Linked DNA regions of Homo sapiens: all the other regions are linked to region 6. Evidence: promoter capture Hi-C in human tissues and cell types (Jung and others, 2019). All regions are on one chromosome and are shown on one strand. Each heading gives the region's core, a stretch centred on a gene start or on the middle of the fragment in contact. The rest is flanking DNA. Distances are from core to core; before and after follow the strand shown. Region 1 overlaps LOC101927066 (a long non-coding RNA gene). Region 2 overlaps CPQ (carboxypeptidase Q). Region 3 overlaps LOC101927066 (a long non-coding RNA gene). Region 4 overlaps LOC101927066 (a long non-coding RNA gene). Region 5 overlaps LOC101927066 (a long non-coding RNA gene). Region 6 holds the start of SDC2 (syndecan 2). Region 7 overlaps CPQ (carboxypeptidase Q).

What was found. Contacts are between HindIII fragments. The study calls those that stand out against the background at their distance.
Region 1: a contact is called between a fragment that was not itself captured here and the fragment with the promoter of SDC2 in region 6, in 1 of the 25 tissues and cell types used here (H1 embryonic stem cells).
Region 2: a fragment that was not itself captured here is called in contact with the fragment with the promoter of SDC2 in region 6 in 2 of the 25 tissues and cell types used here (dorsolateral prefrontal cortex and spleen).
Region 3: a contact is called between a fragment that was not itself captured here and the fragment with the promoter of SDC2 in region 6, in 2 of the 25 tissues and cell types used here (dorsolateral prefrontal cortex and mesenchymal stem cells).
Region 4: a fragment that was not itself captured here is called in contact with the fragment with the promoter of SDC2 in region 6 in 2 of the 25 tissues and cell types used here (H1 embryonic stem cells and dorsolateral prefrontal cortex).
Region 5: a fragment that was not itself captured here is called in contact with the fragment with the promoter of SDC2 in region 6 in 2 of the 25 tissues and cell types used here (bladder and spleen).
Region 7: a contact is called between a fragment that was not itself captured here and the fragment with the promoter of SDC2 in region 6, in 1 of the 25 tissues and cell types used here (spleen).

Annotation. Positions count from the first base shown.
Region 1 is chr8:97,234,462-97,237,853 of GRCh38, reverse strand. The region is part of intron 2 of LOC101927066 (a long non-coding RNA gene); the gene reads left to right. Among named protein-coding and RNA genes, the nearest start is that of TSPYL5, 42 kb to the left of the region's middle. The HindIII fragment of the contact is 3,307 bases long and covers 26-3,332 here.
Region 2 is chr8:97,113,416-97,117,077 of GRCh38, reverse strand. The region is part of intron 7 of CPQ (carboxypeptidase Q); the gene reads right to left. The region is part of intron 2 of LOC101927066 (a long non-coding RNA gene); the gene reads left to right. Among named protein-coding and RNA genes, the nearest start is that of TSPYL5, 160 kb to the left of the region's middle. The HindIII fragment of the contact is 5,761 bases long and covers 1-3,662 here.
Region 3 is chr8:97,254,420-97,258,229 of GRCh38, reverse strand. The region is part of intron 2 of LOC101927066 (a long non-coding RNA gene); the gene reads left to right. Among named protein-coding and RNA genes, the nearest start is that of TSPYL5, 22 kb to the left of the region's middle. The HindIII fragment of the contact is 3,214 bases long and covers 255-3,468 here.
Region 4 is chr8:97,391,604-97,395,523 of GRCh38, reverse strand. All of the region lies in intron 2 of LOC101927066 (a long non-coding RNA gene), which reads left to right. Among named protein-coding and RNA genes, the nearest start is that of SNORD3H, 35 kb to the right of the region's middle. The HindIII fragment of the contact is 4,267 bases long and covers 1-3,433 here.
Region 5 is chr8:97,374,360-97,377,995 of GRCh38, reverse strand. All of the region lies in intron 2 of LOC101927066 (a long non-coding RNA gene), which reads left to right. Among named protein-coding and RNA genes, the nearest start is that of SNORD3H, 18 kb to the right of the region's middle. The HindIII fragment of the contact is 4,443 bases long and covers 1-3,636 here.
Region 6 is chr8:96,491,450-96,495,070 of GRCh38, reverse strand. It overlaps SDC2 (syndecan 2), which reads right to left and starts at 1,258. Exons shown (of 5, transcript NM_002998.4): 1 at 740-1,258. The coding sequence starts at 799. The HindIII fragment of the contact is 18,592 bases long and covers 1-3,621 here.
Region 7 is chr8:97,092,788-97,096,239 of GRCh38, reverse strand. The region is part of intron 7 of CPQ (carboxypeptidase Q); the gene reads right to left. All of the region lies in intron 2 of LOC101927066 (a long non-coding RNA gene), which reads left to right. Among named protein-coding and RNA genes, the nearest start is that of TSPYL5, 180 kb to the left of the region's middle. The HindIII fragment of the contact is 3,142 bases long and covers 71-3,212 here.

The DNA of each region.
Region 1 (3,392 bases), core at 430-2,929, 740 kb before region 6:
GTAGGAGAAAGCCCAGATAAGAATCACCCAGCTGAATGAAGTCAACCCATAAAACCATGATAAATAATAAATTGCAGTTTTAAACAATTATGTTTTGGGTGGCATTCTGTGGAACTGTGGATACTTAGAACAGAATTTGGTACCTGGAGTGCTGCCATAATGAAAACTTAAAATGTGGGATGTTGGCTTTGGGGACCAAGCAGCAGGAAGAAGCTGTGAGGTCCCTGAGGAAACTATTACTGAGAACTAGAGGGAAAATGAGGACATTGTTATTGGAAGTTGGAAAAAGGCATCCTTTGTTTTGTAATGATGGATAATTTGGTATACTGTTGCTTTTGGTAATGTGAAAAACAGAAAATATATCTAGGAAATGGCAGATTTGGCTAAGGAGACTTCCAGGCAGAATGCTAAACATGCCTAATGGTTTCTCTTAGGCAAGTATGGTAAAGTATGAATATAGGGAAGTGAACTCCCCTCTTCCATAATGAACTATTCGGTTTCAAGCAAAACTTAGATGGAATATAAGAAGCCAGACTTGCTGGGTTTAGAAATAAAGCTGTTTTCCATTCCAAGCCTCTCCAGTTGGAAAAAAAGTTCTCAAAGTAAGACATGGTATAAGGTAATGATCATCTCAGAGATATGGCTCTAAGACGCTTGCTAAGATTTTAGAAACCTTTAAGGTGACATACTGTAAGAAGCCCAGGCCACACGGAGAGGCGAAAGTCTACTTCACAGACTTTGAAGAATTCTGAAGGGCATTGTTCCATAGCACCTAACTGTCAGCCCAAGGCAGAAAGTGGCATACCTTAAAGAGATTTGTAGGTATGTATTTGACTAATGGAGTGAACCTGAAACAGTCTTTAGGAAACTTACAAAAAATTTAAGAGAATTGTACATGCGAAAGCACCATCAGCCTGAACTAAACAGGAAAGAGACAGTTCAAACTGCAGAGAGCCTTATATGGGTAGGAAGTAGGACAAGAAGGCTACTAAGCTGCAAACATGGCCATTTCTTATGGAAAAGGAAGAATGATTCAGAGAGCAGAATCAAAATCCCACTAGGAGTGGGGAGCCAAGAGCTACAATCATTCCCAGGGAGGCACAACTGGGAACTCACTAATCAAGGATCTGGCAACATGCACCTGGCAGCAGTTTAGAATTGCTATGGATCAGTGACTGCGATGTGCCTCCAGTTTCTTTCCCTTTCGAATGAAAGCTTTAGTGAAGTTATCCTATCTCTGTATCACCACTGTATTTATGTGTGTGGGACAGATAACTTGTCTCTTCATCTAACAGGTCTTCAGATTGACAGAGCTGTACTCAGGGAACTATACCCCAAGGAGGCTCATCTGCATCAAGATCTGACTTAGATGATAAAATCCTGGACCTCAAGCTTGAGTGGATGCCATAATGGGATGAGACTTTTGGGTCTTAGGAGGAGACACGTGTATTTACCATGTGGGAGGAATGTAAATAATATGCAATCAGAGAGCAGACAGTGACAAAGATGACTGCAAATTCTTTGACCCTCTTCCTATTAAGAGTTATTGTCTTATCTCCCTCCTCTTGAATCCAAGCTGGCCCTGCGGAATTGCTTGACCAATAGAATACACAGGAAGTGAAGTTTGGGACTTGTGAGACTAGGGCATTAGAAGCCTTGCAGTTCCTGCCTGGATCTCTTGAAAAGTTTTCTCTTAGAATACTCCTTTTTAGAATCCCACTATCCTGTGGATTCTAAATTCTGTGAGAAGCACAAACCACACAGACTACATATAAATGCTCAATCAGTAGCCCCAGAAGAACTCCCAGTCCTCAGTGAACATTGACTGGTGGCCATATGATTTGTCATCTCGGACATCCAGCCCAGTTCAGCTTTCAGGTGACTGCAGCCCCAGCTGCCATCTGACTGCATCTGCGTGAGAGACTATAGGTGAAAACTTCCCACCTGACCCAGTCAATCCACAGAACCATGAGAGATCATAGTAAATTGTTTTAAGCCATTAAATTTTGATGATGGTTTGTTATGTAACAAGAGATAACCAGATAAGGTTAAATCTTAGAGGTCAACAGTCATGGTTTCAAATCTCAAGTTCATCATTTATCAACTATGTGATTGTGGGCAAGTCACCTAAAATATCTGAGCTTCATTTTCCTCATCTATAAAATGGGAATCAAAACAGAACCCACCTAATGGGTTTGTTATGGGAATTAAAAGAGAGAATGTATGAAAAGCGACAATATAGTGACAGAAAGTGGGTCAGTAGGTAGTTACTATGGTTAGTAAACCAGTGTGAGTCATCTGCTTTTGTTGAAAGGTAGATGAGATGCTTGTGGCCATGTGGGAAGAATTAATTTAAGAATCTGGTCATTTTACTAAGGACCTGAGAGTAAGGTTAGGTCATTAGCATCTTTGTATTTGCTGTCCATTTTTCTATAATGGACTATAGGGGATTTTGATTCATGGGGGAAATGTTCTGAAAAAATCCTGGGCTCAAAAGAAATAGAAACACTTGGCCTTTTAAAATGGGGCTGTTATGGTTCCATAGACGGCACGTACCACCTCCACATGCGCTGAGCAGGCCTAGCTCACTAAGGTCATAGTGAGCAGGTGAGCAGACCCAGCCCTTGTTACAGTGAGACCAGAGGCACTAGCCTAGAGAGAAGGAGCAGGGGCTCTGAAGCCCCCTGGAGGCCTAAGATGCTGCTGCTGTCCACTGTATGTGCATGTGGATTGGTGAGTGGGTGCTGGAATTCCACATGGGGTGAGGGCAAACTTAAAGAGGCTAGACCCCAGCTGAGAGGTTTAAAGGAATGTCTTGATGTTCAGCACATCACCATACTGATGTGCTCAGTGAGCTTTGTCACCCATTCATTTATTTATATAGGCATTCACTCATTCAACAACCATTTATTGCATGCCTCTATGCACCAGGCCCTGTGCTATGCTCTGGGGACGCACGACACTTAAGAGACGGTTCCTCCCCTGTGATCATGAGGGGCTCATGAACCAGCAGGGGAGACAGACAGGTAAACAGGAAGTATGGCTAGGGGGTAAGTACCATAGTAGAGGGCGACATGGGAGTGCAGAGGAGGGGCTCCAACTCTGGCATCAACCTACTCCACCTTGGGAAAAAGTTCTAAACAGGGAAGCGAGTGAGTCATGAGCTGCATCTGGAAAAAGGGATAGGCTTGGGATTGACCTAGTGAACTGTAGGCAAAAGCCACCGACCAGAGGCACCGAAGGACAGGGCCACACTGGCATCTAGGGGCCATAGACTGGCACACTCTCAGGCAGCCCTGGAATCTGGTGAGTCTGTTCCACAACTCCCATGGGGCCTGCAGAGCAAGTGTCTCTCACAGGCACAGATTAAAGCAAAACATCTCAACTATGTC
Region 2 (3,662 bases), core at 963-3,462, 620 kb before region 6:
ATCTTGTAATTCATCAGTTAGCCTGAAACACACGTAAACAAAGGTCATTCAGCTCCAACCATAACAAGAGGCAACTGAAAGCACTTAGCTGAAGGCAGTGCTCAACATGGAAATCTACCCACAAACTACTGGTTATCATCAATTCCTGGACCCAACAGAGCATCCAGTTGCCAACAGAGGATCTACAGCAAGCCCAAAGGCCATAGGCCAAAGGACAACTGAGCTTTCTCTTAGGCCTCCTATTATCTACCTTTCTGTGATGATTCTGGTTTTGCAAATTTGGACTGGCTGAGAAGACCTCCTCTGTATTTCCCAACTTTGGGAGAAGGAGCTTCTATTATTTTCATTAGAATCCAAATCTCTACATGTTCCTTTGTTGTAGATGGAGTTAATGTTCCTGCCACGGGGTTTCATTTATATCACAGGTCAGCCACACTCTCTGCCTTGCAGAAAGTTAAAAGAAAATACCAGAGGGATCCACACAGTCCTGCACTGGAGCAATTGCTAACATACTAAGCAGCCTTAAGAACCACAAATTTCTAAAAATTTGGAAAAAAACCATGTTAAGGGTTTTCAGACTTTCCCTACAGAAATAGTCACCACTGAAGGCCTTATTCTAATTTTCAGTTATAGCTGGTGTCTGTTTATTTAAGACCTTGGTTAGAAAAATTCAGTTTAATATGCATCAGTGAATTCTGTTGCCATTACAGGCTGGCCAACCATGGTAATGAATCTGGCTGGCTCTTATTTTAGAGTCTGAATTAGCATATTCAGGGGACATTCTCCCTGACTGTCACACTGTCCTGAGGAATTCAGACATCTAACTTCATGAGGGATATGCCTAGCCCCTCTTCACTACCTCCCAGGCCACCAATAACCTGTAATTCTTGAGACCTGGATGTCTTTGACTTTTGTCTCCATAATTCTTACTTTGGTCTTAACTTTTCCTATTTCCTTTTCTGAGTCCATTACTCAAGGCCCTATCATTTCTTTTTCTGTCTCTTTTCTTCCTGTCTGCATTTTCCTTGACCCCTTCTCCCTTTTCAATTTATAGCCTGTCAGCCTCACCCATTTTGCTTTGTTATTTTACTCCCTCCTTTTAAGTGTCCTTGCCTTTATTACCAAACTTTTCATACTCTTTTGCAACTTATTCCTTGTTTTCCACTTGGAATTTCTTTAAAAATTTAAAAAAACAATTATAACCATTTTTTCAATACACCTGATTTTTAAAGTAGAAACTCCATTTCTTTAGTGTGTGAAGCACAGAGGTAAAGACATAAATTAACTAGAGCTGGCTGAGATGGGAAACAGAAAGCCAATTTGTAACCTTGTGCCATAATGAATATGAAGCAGGTGGTGATAGTATGAATACATACCTACATCCAGCTTAGCACACGCTGTACCCATCAGGTACATACAGCCATGCCCAAAGGAAATCAATTTCTCCTTCACCGAATGCCAAATGAAGGCTAAGTCAGGTACTGATCAACTATTTCGAGAACAAATTTAAAAATGGCACAGACGTTTTCAAATTGCCATGAAGTCTGGTTTCAACAACATGAATACCTGAGTCAGCTGAGGATATTCCTACCCGGTAACTAATGTCTATGCAATGGCTGAAGTGCTCTGGGGTATTCTTCTGATCCCCAAACATTCTGCTAACTGAGCAACACAGGCCCACTAACTAGAGTAAAATTGCTTCGGGTTGATAAACCTTCAACAGTTTCCCTGAGTTTTCAGCAGGCTCACACTCACCCCTGCCAATATAGCTTTTGATTACAAAACACAACAGTTAGGTAGTGCAGGTAACAGTAATTATCTTGGTAATTAGATTCTGTCATGCACTGTATACTCTGGACCTTGAGCTTTGTGCAATAGAAGAGGCACCCAGGGCATCTTTAGGGCACTTGGTCTCTTCTAGGGAGCAGGATGCTAATAAGCTTTTGCTGAAACAATGAGAAGGCATATTGCCTCTCCTGTCACACCTCCTTCCTCCCCTTTCTGGTTCAGCAAATTTCAGTTGTGTTGTAGAAAAGAAAAGAAGGGAGAAAACTGGAAATGAGGACTGTGGATGGAAACTGTCCAGGAGGAAATTCAGTTTCTGCCTTGTGCTCTGTACATTTCAAAATGGAAATGCTGTATTCATTAAACTGCCCATTCAGCAAACAATACAGGGAAACAAGATGGATTTTAGGAAAGCAGGAGGGAGGAGAAGAGTCCAGCCAGAGAGAGGAAATGAAATGAGGGCATTGTTTTTAAAGGAGACTATAAAATGTTTAACCAGAGAAAGGAAAATGCCTGCACAGATTTCACTGAAGGATGAAGGAGTGCCTCATTTCAATACTGACAACTGGCAATAACATCTCTATTGCAGCCACACAAAACTCTGCTGGTGTCTGACAAGACCGTGGTGAGTCTAGGTAATGGTATAACTTCCATGCAGTGAGTTTAATGCATTAGGATGAGGGATGAAATTCTTGATATATACTTGATATGAAGAAATACATCAGATCTCTGAGGGTAAACATAGTTACCTGGTAGTCAAAACAAGGACACAGAGAATGGAAAATAAAAAAATACTGAACACCTACTGTGTGCCAGGCACTTCCACATATTGTCTCACTTAATCCTGAAAACATGCTGGTGCAATGGCTTCATTCACAGAGGAGCAAAAAAGTTCAAGAAGATATGCAAATAGCTCAAGTTCATACAGCTGCTCAACGGCAGCGCTGAAATTCGAGGGCAAATCCCATATGGCTTCCACCCTGCCATGCTGCCTTATGAGAACACAGTCCTGTTACCTTCCAGAAAGGAAACCTGCACTATGGATCACCAACCACGTGCCAACTACTTTGAAACATACCCCTGGTTTCCTCTTCTCCTATAATTTCAACTGCACCAACATGCAGACAATTTGACAGACAAACAGTATGGGGCCTCTTCAAAGGACAATTAAATCTCCACCACTGCAATTACACAAATCTGGTGCCTGGGGTTGGGAGTATTATGAAATCCCCAGCATTTGGCATCCCTCCTTAATAGGGAAATCTCATCTGAAATCCAGAGGGATGGCTCTGGAAAGAGACAGGTAGGAACCTAAAAGAGTTTTCTTGGCTGTGCACACATGGCCTTCGTGATGGACACTCTGCTGCCCACGTTGTAGCCAAACAATACAAACCCTAAGTGTTTCCACAGTTGGAACAGGCCCAGCTCTTGAGGACTGGTCTGAGTTTCAGCAGTTTAGAAATCAACAGCACATGAACACATTTTTCTGTACCTTTAGCAGACTGGGTGAGTATCCACCAGATACGTTTTATTCCCTTAATGTTAGGTTTCAGTAGCTGATTAGAGCTGACATTTGTTGCGCTCTAACTGAGCTCAGTTGTTGTTGCCTGAGAGATGGGTGTGATTATCTCCATTTCTGGTAGAGAGATTAGGTCACTTGCCCTTAGCCACCCTCAACTGGGAATGCACCACAGAGGTTTGCTCCAGAACCTGCTCACTATGCTGCCTCCACCACATGGAACTGAATTCTCTGTTTTGCAAACTGAGGATTCAGTCCACTATCATATAATTTTGTTGTTAAGTGTTTAAGTCAGTAAACACTGTGCCTATATTCTAATTATTTGCTTTATATCCTGTAATTGCTTCTCACCAAACAT
Region 3 (3,810 bases), core at 612-3,111, 760 kb before region 6:
CACGTTGGTGGATCAAAAAGCAGATATTGGGGTCAGCATATTTTGCCTTAATCTCACCAGCATTTCTACATCTTGTTGACACTTTGTGAAGTGGGCAGGACAGCCTCCACCACACCCTTTATACAGGAAGACAAAGCGACTTGCCCAGATTCACCAACTGGGAAGTGGCGAGTGTTTATTATGGATCAACATGTGTAAACTGTAGGGGGAGGGGGTAGAATGGGACAGAGGGAGAAGTTGATCAGCAAACCCTATTGGGAGCTGTGGAGCATACGCAGCCCTCAGAGGTGTCCTGTCATGGGTCTTTGTACCCCTGCCACTGTTAGCTGTTGCATTTGGGCTACCCGGAAAGGAAAGAGATGCCCTTGGGCAAAGCAGCTGTCTATGGCAAGCACACTCTGAAGGAGCTGACAGCTGGAGGCAAGTCCTTCCCTCCAGAAAGGGCATTTGGGCAGTGCATCTCCTGTCCTACCACTTTCTTCATCTGCAAAATGGGGATCATGATAGTACCAGCTTGCAGGGTTAAAGTAAGGTAGTGGGTGCAGGTGTCTTCCATAAACAACAGTTGTCTTTAAGGGCACTGTGGGTACTCTGTCTACCAGGCAGCTCTGGCTGTGGGAGCCCCTCCCAATAGAGCTGCCACCAGCCCTTTCTGATAGGACTAACTCCCCAGGAATGTCAGGGTGGTGACTCCGGAGCACTTACAATTGGACACTGTGAAGATGATCATTGTGTTGCATCACCACTGCCCTTCATTCAGTTGTTTCAGATTAAATTCATCATAACAAGAGGTCTCTGATCAAAAACATTGAACTTAAATACGGGGGGAACTCTGGAAAAAAAGGAATGCTGAAAGAAGCTGAGTTTCCTTTCATTCTGAGGACTCTGAATACATTTGAGACTTGCATCTTACTCTTCTAAAGCCATGCAGCCCAAGCTTTCTATTCCATGTTAGTCAGGATGTAGGAGTCATTTCAGACCAAGTCAGGTTGGGGTAGATGATTAGAATGATGCTTGTAGAGATTATCACAATAATGGCCCCCAATGAATCATACTTTCTGATACCATGCCCTTGTGTAGTGTTCTTCCACACTGACTCTGGGCCTAGCCATGTGTCCTGTTTTGGTCCATGTGACATCAGCTAACATAACCCAAGCAGAGACTTGGTAAGTGCTTGCTCACAGGGATTTGCTTGAAGCTCCAACTGGCCTTCTTGAGGATGAGAGACCAGGTGAAAGAGAGGACCTGCCCTCCCAGCCAATTCTCCTGCTGAATGGAGCCTAGGTGAAGCCAGCAGAGCCTCCCAGCTGTCCTACAGAGTCACGAGAAATAATAAATTGCTGTTATGATGATTTTTAAAATTGAGGTGAAATACACCATAACAGAAAATTCACTATTTTAAGGTATGCAATTCATGGCATTTAGTATCTTTATAATGTTGTGCAACCACCACCTCTTTCTAGTTCTAAAACGTTTTCATCACTCCAAAAGCAAACCCTGTATCCAGTAAGCAGTCACTTCTCATTCCCTGCCCCCTCTAACTCCTGGCAACCACCCATCTGCTTCCTGTCTCTATGGAGACACTTTTGTGACTGGCTTCCTTCACTTAGCATAATGTCTTCAGTGTTCATCCATGTTGTAGCATATATCGCTACTTCATTTCTTTTTGCACTCAAATACATGTATGCAATGTTCATAGAAGCACTATTCACTATAGCCAAAAGGTGAAAACAATCTAAATGTCCATTAACTGATGAACAGATAAGCAAAATGTGTTGTACCCATACAATTAAATATTATTGAGTGATAAATTGCTGTTATTTTAAGCCATCAGGTTTTGGGCTGGTTTGTTAACTGTAGTAATAGATAACAGAGAATTTTTAAGGTGGTTGGAGTAATAACAAGAGCTATCACATCTTACACTGCATGCAATGTACTATGTGAAGCACTTTGTGTGAATTCTGCTTTAATCCTCACAAGAACCCTGTGGTTTAGGTACTAATATTGACCCCAGTTCACAAATGGGAAAACTGAGAAATTAAATATTTGCCCAAGTTAACCCAGACAGTTCAATTCCAGAGCTCATGCCTTATTCACTCGCTGTACTACAATCCAGCCATAAATGAAAGGCCTACTCTGGAAGATCTAACTAAGGACATGAGTGTGTAGCTTTGCTGTGAAAGAGACACCATTCTCAGCTTTTTTATATAGTGAATATCACTGGTAGAAATGATCAACAGAATTTAAAGCCTTTAGTAGTTAAAATCTAATCTGTGCAGTCTGACTTGGGAATATTGAACTTTGTAGAACAATGTCTATATAGTAAGTTTTCAAGGGCAAAAGTTACAACCATAATATTTGATATAAATAAACCAATTGAGTAATGCATCAAAGCTTTATATAAAACTGACACAGGAAAAAATTAATCCCAATCAAATAACTTCTGTGAAATAAAATATGAATGAAAATGGGAAAAATTAAAGAGGATTTAACTAGGCTATTTTAAGAAGGTTGATCAAGGAGTCAAATGGACTTAATGGAGTTTTTTCCAGAAAATCCTTTCAGTACAAAAATGTATTCATTATGACATAATTTTGGTTTTAATGGTATTATTCTTAGGAGTCAAAATATCCTTAGGAGAGAACATCTTTCTGAGTCAAACATCTTTTATCTTGCATAAAGATTCTTTGGAGGGTGTAAAGTGTTATCAGAAGGTGAGTATGGGGTCACTCTGGGATGCCAAGACAGATTTGTAAGATTCCAGACTCTTTGGAGAATAAGTGCATTGGTATTTGGAGTCAGACCACGAGATGCTGGGCTTGACTTATGATGCAAGGTAAGGAGGTGAAGGCTGTCCTGTGGGGGTCAGGAATTCATCCCAGTGTAGGGGAGAGTTAGGTCCTGGTGTCCCTTTTGAGACACATGTTCTATGGCAGGGGGTAAAATGGCACATGGAGAAGCCACAAGAGTAATCTTGTGGCCTAATGGTTAGGAAACTTGATAGAAACTCCGTAAGAGGGAGCCTTACTCCTTAAGAGAATAAAGAGCTCACTGGGGGTGTGGTCATCTCAAGTAACCACTGAACCCAGTGCAACAGAAATAGGAACCCAGGAGCAATATCTAGCTAGTTGCAAGGATATGGGAGCAGGAAGTTTTTGGGATCCATTACAAAGGGAATTTGGGATTGACTGAGGTAATGCTGGGAGTAGAGGGAGAAGAACAGAGTTGTTTATTCGTAGGTCAACATATCAGATGCCTATAAATTTTTCAGGTATTGTAAAAATATTTATTAACTATTAATACATAAAGAAAATTTCAAAGCCAAAATTAATAAATGAATAATTAGGTGTTTTCAAAATGTAACATTAGGCCATTCATGTAATAATGGATTATGTATAGGTCTCATATAGCTATAGGTAAATATGAAATGCTTGGATCATAAAAATAAAATAATTTATTCTTCACAAACTCAATTGTATGAAAATTGAACATCCTTTCAAAAAATTTATAGCAAAACAATGTAGAATAATATATAATATAGATAAGTATGTATAGAACTCTGTAACTCTCTTCTTCTGCCTATGTGTCTCTAAATGAAGGCTATGGGCATATTTAAATATGGTTGACATGATATAGGAGTGGTTTAGGGCCTACAGAGGTGTCCGTGTGACACAAAGTAGATGTGGGGCATGTGACATGAATGTGAGGTAAGGGGTAGTTAGCCTGTTAACAAAATTGGGTGGAGTCCAGAGTCAGCAACCTTATTAATTAGTCCCAGAGCTTTATTTTTCTTGAGGCTTGTGTGGCCTC
Region 4 (3,920 bases), core at 51-2,550, 900 kb before region 6:
TTTATTGTAGGTGGAATTACAGAGGCATGTTCACTAGTGCAGAGATGAGCTCAGGTTTGGATGTTGATCCAAGTAGCAGAATGCTCAGAAGCTCACACTGGCTTAATCGGGCCAGGAAATCAGGACCCAGCCAGCAAAGAGAAATCAGGAATAAGGGAACCTGAACAAGTTAGATCAGAAGTAAAACGCTTTGGTGTCCATTAGTGCAAAACGCTTTGGTGTCCATTAGTGCTTCTGGAAAGACGTTCAATTCCTCTCTCTCAACACTCAGCACTCCCAGGCCAGTCCCTAAAGAGGCAGCATCTAGGAATAATCACCCACTAGGTCTCATTTCCCATTGTGCCCTACCCAAGAATGGCCTATTCACCTGGACACTGTGAGTGACCCAGCATCTCAGGCCAACCCATGTTGTTCCCTCTCTTGCTGCCTTTACAGCCCCTTCTCTAACTCAAGCTTTGACTCTTCCCAGTCCTCAAACCTGTGCACTAAGCTTTCTGGGCTCCCAGACGGTCATCAGCAAAATCCTGTTAGTCTCAAATTGTTTTCTGAACACTTTCTTCATCTTTTTGCAGCCCATTCAAGTGGTGCTTCCTTCCTTTTCTTTTCTCTCCTGCCGTCTTCACATCTAGAGCCTGGAGGCAGGTGAGATATCCCTGATTCTCCCTGCTGTTTCCAGACCTTTGTTGCACCCACTGTAAAGAATTGCAGTGCATCGGAAGCACATGCCACCGGGCTCCGCCATATCCCACACCCTCCTTTTGTGTCACCTACGCTCCTCCTCCGCATGTCCCTCATTTATTGAGAATTTTAGCACCTGGATTTCAGTCTTTCCACTGCCACTTATGTCATTATTTTCAGTATTCTGAATATCCACATAGATAATTCATCCAACACTTGGCCTCTCAGTTGCAAGGATTTTATCCTTGGACCATGTCAGTCTTTTATTCCAGGGCCATACCCTAGACTTTTATTAACCATTCCCTCACCACCTCAAAGTCTCCACTTCACTTCATGTGCTCTCTGATCATCCTGTCTTTCTATTCTAGCCTGTTCCCTTTGGTATCCCAACTCCAGCAATTCTTTGGGGCCTCTGAGACTGCCAATCCACCTTATTCCTTTTCTCTGTCAATCTCTTTCCCCGTTATCCAGCTGAGATTTCATGAACTGGCTTGCATACATTTTCTTGCATGCCACTCACCTCCCTTGTTCATCTCATCTTTCTTTGTACTTATTGGCAAAGCTTCAATCCTGGTTAAATCCAACTTGGACTATTCTCCTCCTTCACCCAAGAAGCTCCCTATGGCTTGTGAAGAGCACACACCCTTGTCAATTGGCCTCACTTTAAACTCCTGACCTTGGACTTGAAGTAGGCACTCAGCCCTTCCTGGCAGAGGGGCTTCACTCACCTTGTCAATCCATCCCCACTTTCCCAAAGAGTGATTTCACTCCTGTCTTCTCTTTCCTCAGACCAGCAATGGTCTCTCTGCTCCACTCATAAACTTGCTTCTTATGTCACTGAGAAAATGAAAGCAATTGAAAGAGAATTTTGGTAGGCTTCAACTACAAGATCTACGATCCTTCCTGCATCTCTACTTCTGTTGCTTGAATGAGAAGTCCTTGTTCCTACCTAGGGCTGGCTTTCCCCCTGCATGCTGGATCCCTTCTGCTCTCGCCTACTCCAGCACTTTATTCCCGCTCTTCTTGCTTCCTTCTGCATCACCTATCTCTCTCTACTGTGTCATTCCAGTGAAATTTAAACACTCTGCAGTACCACTTATCTTTAACCTCACATCCTGCTCAGCCCCATTTCCCCCCTTTATTTCTAATATTATTCTAAACTATGGGAGTTGTCTCTGGTAGCTGCCTCAATTTCCTCACTTTTTGTTCTCTCTTTAATCCATTCCATCAGATTTGGGTCCTCACTACTCCACCTAAACTCCAGGTCTGCAATGACCATCTATTGGAAATCTCTGAGTTTTTATCTCAACTGATGAGTAGCATCCCACCCATCTCCTTCCTTCTTGAGGCATCCTTCACTTGGCTTGTAGGATACTACACTCCCCTGGTTCCCACCCTGCCCATTCTGTCCCGGTTTCATTCACTGGATCCTTCTCTTCTGGACTATGCCTGGGTTCTTTCTTGAATTTCTCTTCTTTAGCTGTGCACAATGGCAGGGGCACAACGCCAGGCAATTTTCTGGCAGTTGAAATAAGGTGTTTAGGGGAAGCAATATCTTTTTCAAGTTTTCACAGAGTCATCTTGTGGGCTATTGAACAGGGCTGCAGCCTGACAACTCTTTCCCTCCATCAGGCTGAACTCTGGCCATCCCTGTCTTGGCTGTTCTTTAGGGGAGCTTCGTACACACCTGCCTGTGCCGGTGCACCACTCTCCCGCTGCCTCCCCCTGCCATCCAGGCATGTGCTTGGCTTTCCTTCCTGCACACATCATCCTGGGCTCTGCTCAAATATGAGCACCCTAGATAGAGCAATAACCCTCATTTCCCTCCTACTTTACTATTTTCAATAACATGTATTTTTCCTTTGCATTATACTGTAAATATATTTTCATATCTGTTTTTCTGCCTTCTCCACTAGTCTTAAAACTCCATGAGGGCAGAGATTGCCCTCATGTTCATTGTTCAATTCCTGGAACCCAGAACAGTATTTGGAATTTATCAGGTGCTCAATAAATAAATACCTGTTGAATGGATGAATGAATGGGTAGCATGGTTATGCTTCTTCATACCACTGGGCTTATGTCCTGGTACTCCATACATAGTAGGTACTCACTGAAGGGGGATGACAGTAACTCTAAACTCATGGGACTGTTGTTAGGCTTGAATCAGGTAACGGATGTGCATGTGCTTGGTGAGCTACATACGAAAACCTTTACTATTGCTCCTGTTGCTAAGAAATTAAAGGTTAGAGGTGGCCGGGCGTGGTGGATCACACCTATAATCCCAGCACTTTGGGAGGCCGAGGCGGCCGGATCACAAGGTCAGGAGATCGAGACCATCCTGGCTAACATGGTGAAACCCCATCTCTACTAAAAATACAAAAAAATTAGCCAGGTGTGGTGGCGGGCGCCTGTAGTCCCAGCTACTCGGGAGGCTGAGGCGGGAGAATGGCATGAACCTGGGAAAGGGAGCTTGCAGTGAGCCGAGATCGCACCACTGCACTCCAGCCTGGGTGACAGAACGAGAGTGAGACACGGTTTAAAAAAAAAAAAAAAGAAAAGAAAAAAAATTAATGGTTAGAGATAGAATTTGAAACTCCATTCATTTATTTACCCTGCAATTAATTCTGAGCCCCTCATCTGTTCTGTGTTCAGCGGTCGGGGTTCTGGGGATACGGCAGTATATTAGTCCACTCTTGCAATACTATAAAGAAATACCTGAGACTGAGTAATTTGTAAAGAAAAGAGGTTTAAGTGGCTCATGGTTCTGCAGGCCTTACGGAAGCAGAGTGGCTTATGCTTCTAGGGAGGCCTCAGGGAGCTTTCAATCATGGTAGAAGCGGGAGCGAGGCATCTTCACACCGCCAGCACAGGAGGAAGAGAGAGTGGGGAGGTGCTATACACTTTTAAACAACCAGATCTCATGAGAACTCATTATCACAAGAACAGCGGCTAGCGGAATGGTGTTAAACCATTCATGAGAAACTGTTCCCATGATTCAATCACCTCCCACCAGGCCCCACCTTCAATAATGGGGATTAGATTGATATAAGATTTGGTTGGGGACACAGATCCAAATCATATCAAGCAGTGAGCAAACAAAGCCCTTCCTTCCTGTAGTTCAGGAATTCTCAGAAGATCAGGTGTCTTTTTCTATTTTTTCCCTGCTTTGCTCTAATTTCACTAGAGTGTGGTTTGAGTGCAAGAAGTGATTTTTAACACAGGAGAGGGGTGGATGGAGTAGT
Region 5 (3,636 bases), core at 446-2,945, 880 kb before region 6:
ATTGATTGGAACCAATATGGCTAAGTGCAGTCTGCACAGAAGGAGCTTGCTGATGTCACAGTCTGAATTTCCACCATGTGCTTCATACTAGCTCCTTCCAAATTTACACATGGGGCCCATGAGGCAGCATGAGGAGATAACTGCATGACTGAGGACTTCCCAGACCCCCTTTCCTTCCACCAATCAATTGCTAATCCCGGGATCCATTCCCTATGCCTTTTCTAATAAAATTACTGCTTTAAATCCAGCACAGGGAGATAGATTTGAGCTGGACTCCTGTCTTCTTGGGAACTGACTTACAACAAAAAGCTTTTCTTTTCTCAGAAACCTGGTGTCTTAGTATTGGCTTCTAGCAGGAGCCCCTTTGTTTGGTAACAGTTACAGGCGGGGTGTCTCTGTGAGTTGAGAGGTGTTGGACAGAGCATCCCCAGAGATGGGAGAATCATTGCACACATGGTCTGCTACTGTCATCTTGCCAGCTACATTCTGCTGCTTGGAGCCCCCGTGACAACATTCTGCCATGTGGTGGCCTGGCTTGTGAAAGCCAGTGAAGGGCCATCTCTGTCCCTCCCGCATTTGCCAGTGATGCTAGACTGCTGAGCAGAAGGCTGTCTCCTTGCTACTTCCAACCTCTGGTCCTAGCTCCACCCCTAAGGCCATCTAAAATAAATACAGTCCCTTTGCACCAGCAAGTCCTCCCAGTATACTGAAAGAATCTGAAGAAGTGTCTTCTTCAAGGAAGTATGGCCAATTCCTTTAACTTTCCTTATGGGATGTAGTTCAGGTTCCTTTGCTGTCCTGAATGCTTCAGACTTGATCATCTTTATTTAAAGCATGGCTTCCCGGGTTGGATGTGGCGATACCCTATCTGTGGCTTGGTGTGGCACAGGGAAGTGTGGAATGCACTTGCCTCATTCTAGAAACTGCAGTGCATGCAGTCTACAATGGCACCAGGTTATTGAGTGGACCTGTGTACAGCTCAGAGGGTGCCAGAGCAGAATTTTAAATCTGACTGCATGGGTTCTAATCTTGGCTCCAGTATTTACTGATGAGGGACTGCGGGAAATCATTTTAAGAGCTTTTGGAGTCTCAGCTTCCTCCTCTGTAAATGAGGACTACTAAAGACCCTACCATTATAATGTTATATATTTGTTTTAAGTGGGAATCAAGTTATTAATTCAACAAAAGCACATAGCACAGTGCTGGTATTAGAATTATAATTATTATAATTATTAGTAATGTTTCAAGTACCAGTGTTGTCTAAACCCTTTCATGTTTCTCACATGATGTTCTGCCAGGCATCTGGATTTACCCATGTGGAGTCCAGGGTAGGACTCTTTCCTTGTTAAATTTTATCTTGTTGGAGTCTTTCTATTATCCTAACCCTATCCTACTAATTTTAGTCTCTGGCTCATTGAGGCAGTCTATTGTATGTCTTTCCAAAATTCTCACCCTGCCCAAAGTTCATGGAATTTCAGCACCTATAGTAGGGTAGCTTATGTTTTCCCCTTTCCTCTCTGAGACTTGGTGAGTGGCATGGAGAATGTAAATGGAGAAACACACAGCTCCACAAACTCAGATGTGTAGAGTGGCAATTACGAGGTCCAGGGCTGGAGTCGGCAGTCCTGGACTCAAGTCACTACTTTCCAGCTGTGCAATGTTGCACCAGCTAATGGATCTCTCTAAGCCTCAGTTTCCTCATCTATAGTATGTGAACACTAGGGAAATTTACCTTGGGGGTTGTGGGGAGGATAACTTGAGAAGACACATGTGTGGCACATACACAGCAAGCACTCGGTCAATAGGAGCTGTTACATTTACATTGCTTCTGTTGTTGCTGTTCTTGGTGGCCCTGGATATGATCAAGCAGCCCTGACACTAAGAACCACAGGGGTTTGGAAGAGGCACTCATTTCTGGAGCAACACTAAAGCAGTCCCAGGGAGAAAAGAGAAGGGGATGGAATAAGAGCTGGAGGATCTGATGGTTGGGGGAGCCAGGTCACAGTAACAGCAGCAGACCCGGTCCAGCTCATACAAGTGACCCTTTGTTCAGCCCTCTGCTGCCTGGCGTGTTCTCCTCAGACACTGAGGCTATTATGACACAAGCTTCCCTAGCAGCCCACACCATCCCCAGCTGCCAGGGTGAGGCATATGGAGCCAAGCTCCCCAGCTGTGCTCTGGCCAGCTCCCTGCTCATCCGCCAGAGGGCCAGGTTGTGGGGGATTATGGAGTGAATCTTGGTGTGGCAAGAAATAGAAAACAGGCACTTACTTTTAAAATCTTGGTGTTGGGGGGGTCCCCAGAGTTAGTGGTTATAAAATGATGGTGGTGAATTGCAAAGGTAGCGGCAGGCTGTTTAGGCTTCTGAAAAGTATTTTTGCTCGATGGAAATAAAGTTTGTTGTAGTCTTCTATGCACATTAAAAATTAATCAAGTTGATTGAGATCTTTGTATAATTAAAGTTGTTTTTAGGGATCAAAGAAGACTCAACCGGGAAGGGTTTAAAATAGAAAGGATTTTGGCATGCACATTCTAGAGATCTTGGAGATAATTAAATGAAGCTTGCTTCCTCCAGACTTAAGAACAATGAAACTGAAGAAACATCGGGGAGGAACAAACCAGGTTTTTTGTGTCTATCTGGTCCCCGATTATCCCAGTGTGGCTGGCCTTGGTCCTCCCCCTTGCACTGATGTGGCTCAGGAGGAGAGGCACACCCCCAAACCCCACTGTGCCCCTGCTTCAGGACATGTGCATGTCCCCTGTCTCGGAAGCAGGAGCCTGACTGACCAATTGAGGCCTTGGGGGAGAGATGAGAAACCCCATCCCGGGGCCACAGCACCAGAGTCCCTCTGTTTAAAAAGGAAAAGAATTAAAAGCAGGATCTATTCCGCTCCTGGGATCCAGGACCACTTTGCAACTTCCCTGAGTTTTCACTTTGCTCTGTGGTGACATCTTTTCAGCCTGTTCCAGAAACTGGGTTTCCTGTTGGCTGCTGGGTTCCTGGCACTGCCTCCTGCTCTTGGGTGGCCAGCCTACACCTGGAGAGGGCTCTCTTCCTTCCTTCCCTTCAAAGTCTCTTGCTGGAGCCTGAAACAGTTCTCTTTCACCACATCTAACATGTTTCATGAACTCTGCCTTTGCTCTTACTTTCCTTTATGTTTAATGATGTGAATGCTTGCAGCTCAGACCCTTAGTGTCACTTCCAGGGACCAGTATTGCAGTAAATTCCTAACTGGATGCTCTCTCTTTTTTTCTCCAATCCATTCTTCACACCAAAATTATTTTTCTAGAGCACAGATCTTATCATGTCATGCCATACACAAAAATCCACAATGGTTTCTCACTGCCTACAGCACAACGTTAAATTCTTGAGCCCAATGTTCATCAGCTTCCTTCATATAACTACATTCCCCTTTTCCCATTTTCTCTTCCTCTCTGGCCCTCTTCCATTCTAATGTGTCCCAACTGCGGCATGCAATTCAGAGTTCTACAAACTCAGAATGTGTAGAATTTTGCTTTGTGCTTTTGCTTCCACTATTCTCTCTGCCCTTGTTTCACCATTACAATTTTACTCATCCTTCTAGTGATCTCAAATGCCTTCTCTTTTGTGATGTCTGAGCAGATTCTCCTAAAGTA
Region 6 (3,621 bases), core at 9-2,508:
CCCCGCGGTGCAACCTCCACCCCTCAACGAGGAGGGGGTCGCCGCAGGACTGGGAATCCAGTGGCCGGCGTCCCAGCATTTTCGGACGCGTTCCGTGCCTCCCCCAGTATCCCCTTGAGGGATCGCCTACTGCGATTCCACGTAGTGTCGGTTACCTCGCCCTAGCCGCAGGGAGCATCAAACAAAAGAACTTTTGCAAACTTTTCTCTCTGGACACTCGCGGGTCTCTTAAATCTGGCCCCCATCTCCCCAGAACTTGCATGCAGTCAAACAGGAAAGCTGGCGCGGGGGGGATGGTGTGCGGAGGAAGGGACCCCGAAGTTTCCAGGTCATCCCTGGTCTCGAGGAGCGCGCGGAGTGGAGCCGTTCCCTCGCGGGCCCGACCCAGGCTCCCCCCTCCTGCCACCCTTTCCCCTCCGTCCTTCCCAGACCACGCAGCAAGACCCGCCGAGGGCGAAGAAGTTGGGAGTGACTTCAGGGGCCTCTGCGGCTAGACCAAACCGCAATTCTCGGTGCCCCCATTCCCGCGGACCGCGGGGTAACGCCAGCGAGCAGCGCTTTTCTGAGGAAGGGAAGAGGGGGAAAGGGTGACCGGACGAGCGCATTTGTCCCAGCGGATCTCCGGTGTATACTTGGGGACTGGGGGTTCCCCAGGTGGCGCTCCCCTATTCCCTGCGGGCTCCTCTCGTAGCTTCAAACACCCTAAACGGCGCGCGCATCCTCCGCCTGGCCCACTCACCGACTCCGCCGACACGCAGGCCACCAAGCCCAAGGTGAGCAGGATCCACGCGCGCCGCATATTCCCCAGGGACCGGCTGCTCCCAGCCGCTGCTTGCAACCAGGGCAAAACGAAGCCTCCTGCCCAGCGCTCGGCGCAGCCCGCGCACACGAATCCGGAGCAGAGTACCGCAGCGATTGCGGCTCAGGCTCGGGGACTCGGGCTCGGGGCTCGGGGGCGCTCGCTTCCTCCTCCTGCGCCTGCTCCCGCCGCCCGCAGCTGCGCCCCGGGAACGCGGCGCCCTCTCACTTGTTGGTTTCTGCACTCCCGACACGGAGTTGGTGCTCCGGGAAGGCTGCTCTCTGAAGCTCTTCTTGCTCTGCTGTGGTTTTGCTCCTCCGCGGACTCCTTTCCCGTGCCGAGGTTCAGTTTCTGGTTTTAAGGAATAAATTCGCTGGCTTGAAAGGGAGCTACGGCAGAAGTTTAGGGGCAGAGCGGCGGGAGCGCGCGATCCGCGCGGCTGGAGCTCCGGGGGTATCTGGAGAGCAGCGCGTCCAAGCGGGGCCACTGGCTCCGCGGCTGCGCCCCTCCTCCTCCCGCGCCGCGCCTCCCTCCCCGGGTCCTCCTCCTTCTCCTCCTCTTCTTTTCCTCTGGCTCCCTCCCTCCTGAGCCTGCTTCTCCGGGCTCCCCTGGGCGACTGGGGAGAGGAGGCGGCAGTGTGACTCCCAGATAAACCCGGGAGAAATTCCTACAGGATTACACGCCGATTGGCAGCTCCGAGGACCAGTGGGCGCCGCGGCTCCGCGCTGTGGCTGCGCCGGCTCTGCTCACCGGCAAGCCAGGGCTCCTGCGTTTTCTCAGTCCTTTTCTTCCTTTCTCTCCCCACTTTTCCTCTCTCCTCTATGCTCTTTTCTTCCCCGTTGTCTTTTCTCTTTCCCTTCTTCACTTTCCCTTTTCTAGAGAACAATTAGTGAAGAAACGAGAGACGTATGTAGCTTTTCTGCCTTGAGAATTCGACCAGTAGAAAGAAACTGCTTTGTGAGTTGAGGGAAAAAAAAAGTGTAAGATGCTTTCAAGCAATGTGAAGTGTTCATAAATCGCCAGTTCATGAAAATTGCATTTTAAAAGAGAAGATAATTAATGTAATAAATATATAGTGAGAGTGTTTCCCATTCTCCCAAATCCTTCCGCACCCCCAAAAAAGGGACATGGAGGAAGGATCCTGTAAACCCAAAGTGCAACAGTTTGAAAGCTCCTAACTTCATTAAGGGCTTAAATACCATTTCTCCCTCACACACAGTTTATGCCACTAAGGCTTTTTATAGGCTCCATTTTAGCAGATAGGTGTTAACGTTTGGAAGCTACAAATAGGGTAATTTGATGAGAAGTTGGATAGAGACCCTGAATAATAACAGATTTAAGATAACTTCAAAGAAAAGAGGGATAAAGTAATTCTTAGTTTGAAGAAAATAATGAACATGTATTTCCTAAATGGAAGTAGCTGACATGAAATATTTTGTTACAATGTCTGTGGCATATTATAGAACATGGCAAATGCGTATTCCCTTCCAGTTTCTTTTTCTTACTGTCACAAATTTTACACACAAATCCCTTGCAGTTCGTGCCATCATTTTTCTCTCTGACTTATAGAGTAAATGAATTATGACGCCATTCTGCTCCTGGAATGCCCACTACAGGAAACCAGAGACTTTTCTGTCTGTTCACCATTGTATTCTCATTCCTGGTACATAAAGACACATGATAAATATTATCTTGAATAAATTTTGCTCTAAAGCTCAATTTATACCGTATAAGAGTTGTGAGCCTTTAAAATACACCAATGTAGATATATAGATATGAGGCCATGGTAATTTTTCAACTCAGTATTAGAATAAAATACAGTCATACCCTCAGTGAGAATTAAATGTCTTAGTAACCTATTACTGTAATAAATCTCAAAGAAAGAAATTTAACTGGAGAATTACAACTCAAACTTGGAGACACTTATTCCTTTGGTTTTGTGTGCCAGCTACCAAACCTACAAATGCTCATGAGCAAGTCTAAGGCATTGGCCAACAAAAAGGTAATATGGAGAAATAGAAGAGTAGGCAAAGGAGAAAGAAGAAAAAGAGCAATAGGCCAGAAGTTGTAACATCAGATGATGCTTCTGATTCCACAGACACTGTAGCTGGCATCTGTGCCAATGTGGGCTCCACTTAGCTTTTGAAAGAATGAACCACAGCCTTTTTTTTTTTTTTTTTTTTTTTTGAGACAGGGTCTCATTCTTGCCCAGGCTGGAGTGCAGTGGCCTGCACTGTAGCCTCTACCTCTCAGGCTCAAGCAGTCCTCCCACCTCAGCTTACCAAGTAGCTGGGACTACAGGCACAGGCCACCACACCAGCTAATTTTTGTGTTTTTTATAGAGACAGGGTTTTCCATTGTTGCCCAGGCTGGTCTCAAACTCTTGGGCTCAAGTGATCTGCCTGCCTCAGCCTCCCAAAGTCCTGGGATTAGACACGTGAGCCACCAGCCTAGTGCCCTTATTTTTAAGATGGAGTCTGTGGGTTGAAGAGGTTCATGAGATGGGGAGACTTCTTAAAAAGGCCTCCAAAGGAAAAGCAGCAATGCAAAATACATGCAAAGAGCCATAAAATACCAGCTCTGTCCTCATAAGAGGCCTCGTCTACTCGCCAGCCTTCAGGCAAGGCCACACCTCCATTGTCCCCAACAGTTAAGTATTCATCAAATAAATTGGAATTCCAGTAAAACAGGAAGTGCACTCCACTGATTTGCTGGTTCTCACAGTTATTGCTGTTTACTGGGGCACCCATGTAACAAGAAGCGTGGTGAATGCTCTCTGATTCAGCTTGGGCAGACAGTGATAAAAAATGAATAAGTGGATA
Region 7 (3,452 bases), core at 392-2,891, 600 kb before region 6:
GCTCTACCACTCATAACTTATATGAATTGGCCAAGGTACTTACCTCTCTCAGTGTTAGTTTCCTTACCCATTAAATGAAATCATTAATAAGATTATAATGGAAAACATTTAAAAACATTTAGCAAGTGCCTAGGACATAGAGTTCAATAAATGTAGCTATCATCATCATCATCATCATCATCATCCCCACCACAACTATAATTTCACTGGAAATTTGTTGATGGTCTTTGTTATTTTAAACAGAAATAACAAGCCCAAATGCTTTTAGGTTCCAGGAAGGCAATGTAAGTGAGAAAAGTAAAATTCAGAATTTGGTGACAAGAAAAACAAGTAGCCAACTATGATATAGTATGATTAAGGCTATGTTTTAAGTTTACTATGAAAACAGAGGAGGAGTACCAAACAGCCTTAGATACTAAAGGGAGACATGACAACAAAAACAACAATAGTGATTGCTAACATCTCTTGAGTAATATGTGTTAAGACGCTCTCTGTGCTAAGCCTTAAAAGATAAGTAGCAAAGGGAATAATAGCATATGAAATAAGGAATTGTGAAATAATTTGGTGTTTTTAAATAATTTCCAGCAGGATGCTATGGCCAGAGTTAAGTCCACATGAAAAACCCATGAGAGACCAGGCTGGAGAGTTTGGCAAGTGTCAAGTCATGTAGGCCTTTATATACCAATATGTCATGCTCAAGAGTTGGCCTTGAAAGAATGGGAAGCCACATTTTGGGAAGACAACTGGGAGCAATGCAGTAATGAGGAATTTTGAGTGCCTTAACTAAGGCAGCAGTACAATGAATAAAGGAGAGGCTACATTTAAAGGGTAGAAATGGCATTATCTTAAGGATTGACTGAATAAGGGAGAGTGAATGAGGAAAATAAGTCTAAGTCAATGCCAAGTTTTCAGGTTTGAGCGACTTGGACGATAATTTCTATTCCTAGAGATGGGTTGTGGTAAGGGTGAGATAGAAGTTTGGCTTCAGACATGTTGAATTTAAATACCTACAGGATACCCAAGTGGTAACATTGGCCACATGGCTTCCAAAATCTGTAGATATAGATTTGAGAATCTATAGAGTTATCTTCCAGGAACAGTGACCTGAATAAATAGAGTCCAAGGATGAGATCCTAGCATATACTAACACGTAAGGGACTGGCACAAGGAAGGGAAGCGAAAAAGGAATGAAAAGAGGAGTTAAGAGAAGCTAAGGACATACAGAGTTTCAAGATGTAAGTGGTGGTCAACTATGTCAATGCTTCAGAAAAATCAAACAAGAAAAGGACTAGAATGCACCAGTTCAATTTGGCCAAAAGGAGGACCTTTGTGTCCTTGGGAAGGTAATCCTGGTGGACAGTTCCAAGTGGAATTCAGGATGCACTGGAAGGAGGAATGAGTGAGAGGACAAAAAGCTTGGCTGCAAAGAAAAGAAAGAGCTGGAGGTTCATAAAGTTGGGTAAAGCTGTATATATATATATATTTTAATGGCGAATACTTGAAATATTTATATTCTGATGGGAAAAGTTTAGAGAAGAGAGAGAATTGAAGCAATAGGATATAAATAATTGCCAGTTTGAGTTGCTTGAGGGCATAGAGGGGGACCGGACTCAGAACATAGCCCTGGATAAGAAGAGGAACACATGCTATAGGAACAGAAAATAAAGAATGAAAATGGATGGAGAGTGGGCTGGTTTGCTGAGCAGGGGAGGACATGGGGATAGGAGAATAACCTCAGTGGTGACAGGTGTGTGTGACTTTCTCAAGCAGCCCTGGGCTGTCTGGCATGGATGGGGCAGCGAAGGTAGAGGAGTGAATTGATCTAAGATGTCCAGATCTCAGAGGGAAAAACTCATGCCATGAACTGTTTAGTGATTTCCTCAGCCTGAAATTTCATTATGAGTTTGAACAATTTGCAAACCTGCAAATCATTTGAGATTTTCCCAAAGCTGTGCTGAATACTAATTCATCTAGATAGACAGTGTAACCTGCAAGGGAATTGGAGCCTTTAAACTCAATTCTTTCTTGACACTTGAGAAATGAATGGAGAATTGTGTGTCCAAATCTTAGTCGTTGGAGAATCAAACACAAAAGTGTTTTATAAGAGTTGTCAGAAAAGAGTTTTGTTCTTCTCAGAACACTCATTCTGCAAAGAGAAAAAAAGAAAAGAAAAAATGTGCAAGGAGGTTTTCACATCCCCTTGACAAGAGAAGGAGGAACTTATTTGCCCTTACAAATAAAGGGCATTCCCTACCTTTATTTGTAAAGACTCACACCCTATGGGAGTCCTACAATAAATACTAATTCAGTGAATTTAGGATACCACAAAACAGATTTTAGTATTTCCATTCTGATCCCAGTGATGTCAGAGACTATAAATATTGGCTGTGACAAAACTTTAGATTTAAAGTAGAAGGCAAATGAATAGCGGATAAATTGATTACTTTAAAGATTTCAAATTCTGATTGGTGGTTTAACCTCTCAGAAGGCCTACCCTTTACAAAGAATACAGAAAGGAAGAGGGGCCATTGTCCTCCTTGTCTAGGTAATACGCATCAAATGTGAGTGAATCTCCACTGTCTAGGTAATACTCAACAAATGTGAGTGAATCTCCACTGTTATCTATGCCACTTATGTGTCACAGTGGGGTCTTTTCTCACACCTCTTTCTTTTTTCTATCCAACTTTTATTTTTGGTTTAGGGGGTATATATGCAGGTTTGTTACATGGGTAAATTGTGTGTCATTGGGGTTTGGTTTATAAATTATTTTGTCACCCAGGTAATGAATGTATTTTCTTTATCCACTCTACCATTGAAAGGCATTTGGGTTAATTCCATGTTTTGCTATTGTGAATAGTGCTGCGATGAAAATATGTGAGCATGTGTCTTTATGGTAGAACAATTTATGTTCCTCTGAGTATACACACAGCATTTGCTGGGTCAAGTGGTAGGTCCTGTTTTAAGTTCTTTGAAAAATCTCCAAAAGTACTTTCCACAGTGGCTGAACTAATTTACATTCCCACCAGCAGTGTGTAAGTATTCTTTTTTCTCTGCAACTTTGCCAGCATCTGTTATTTTTTGACATTGTAGTAATAGCCACTCTGACTGGTGTGAGACGGTATCTCATTGTGGTTTTGATTTGCATTTCTCTGATGATTAATGATGTTGAGCATTTTTTCATATGTTTGTTGGCTGCTTGTCTGTCTTCGTTTGAGAAGTGTCTGTTCATGTCTTTTGCCCACTTTTTAATGGGATTGTTTGTTTTTAGTTTGTTGAATTGCTTAAGTTCCTTATAGATTCTAGATATTAGACCTTTGTCAGATACGTAGTTTGCAAATATTTTCTTCCATTCTGTAGGTTGTCTATTTACTCTGTTGACAGTTTCTTTTACTGTGCAGAAACTCTTTAATTAGGTCCCACTTGTCGATTTTTGTTTTTGTTACAATTGCTTT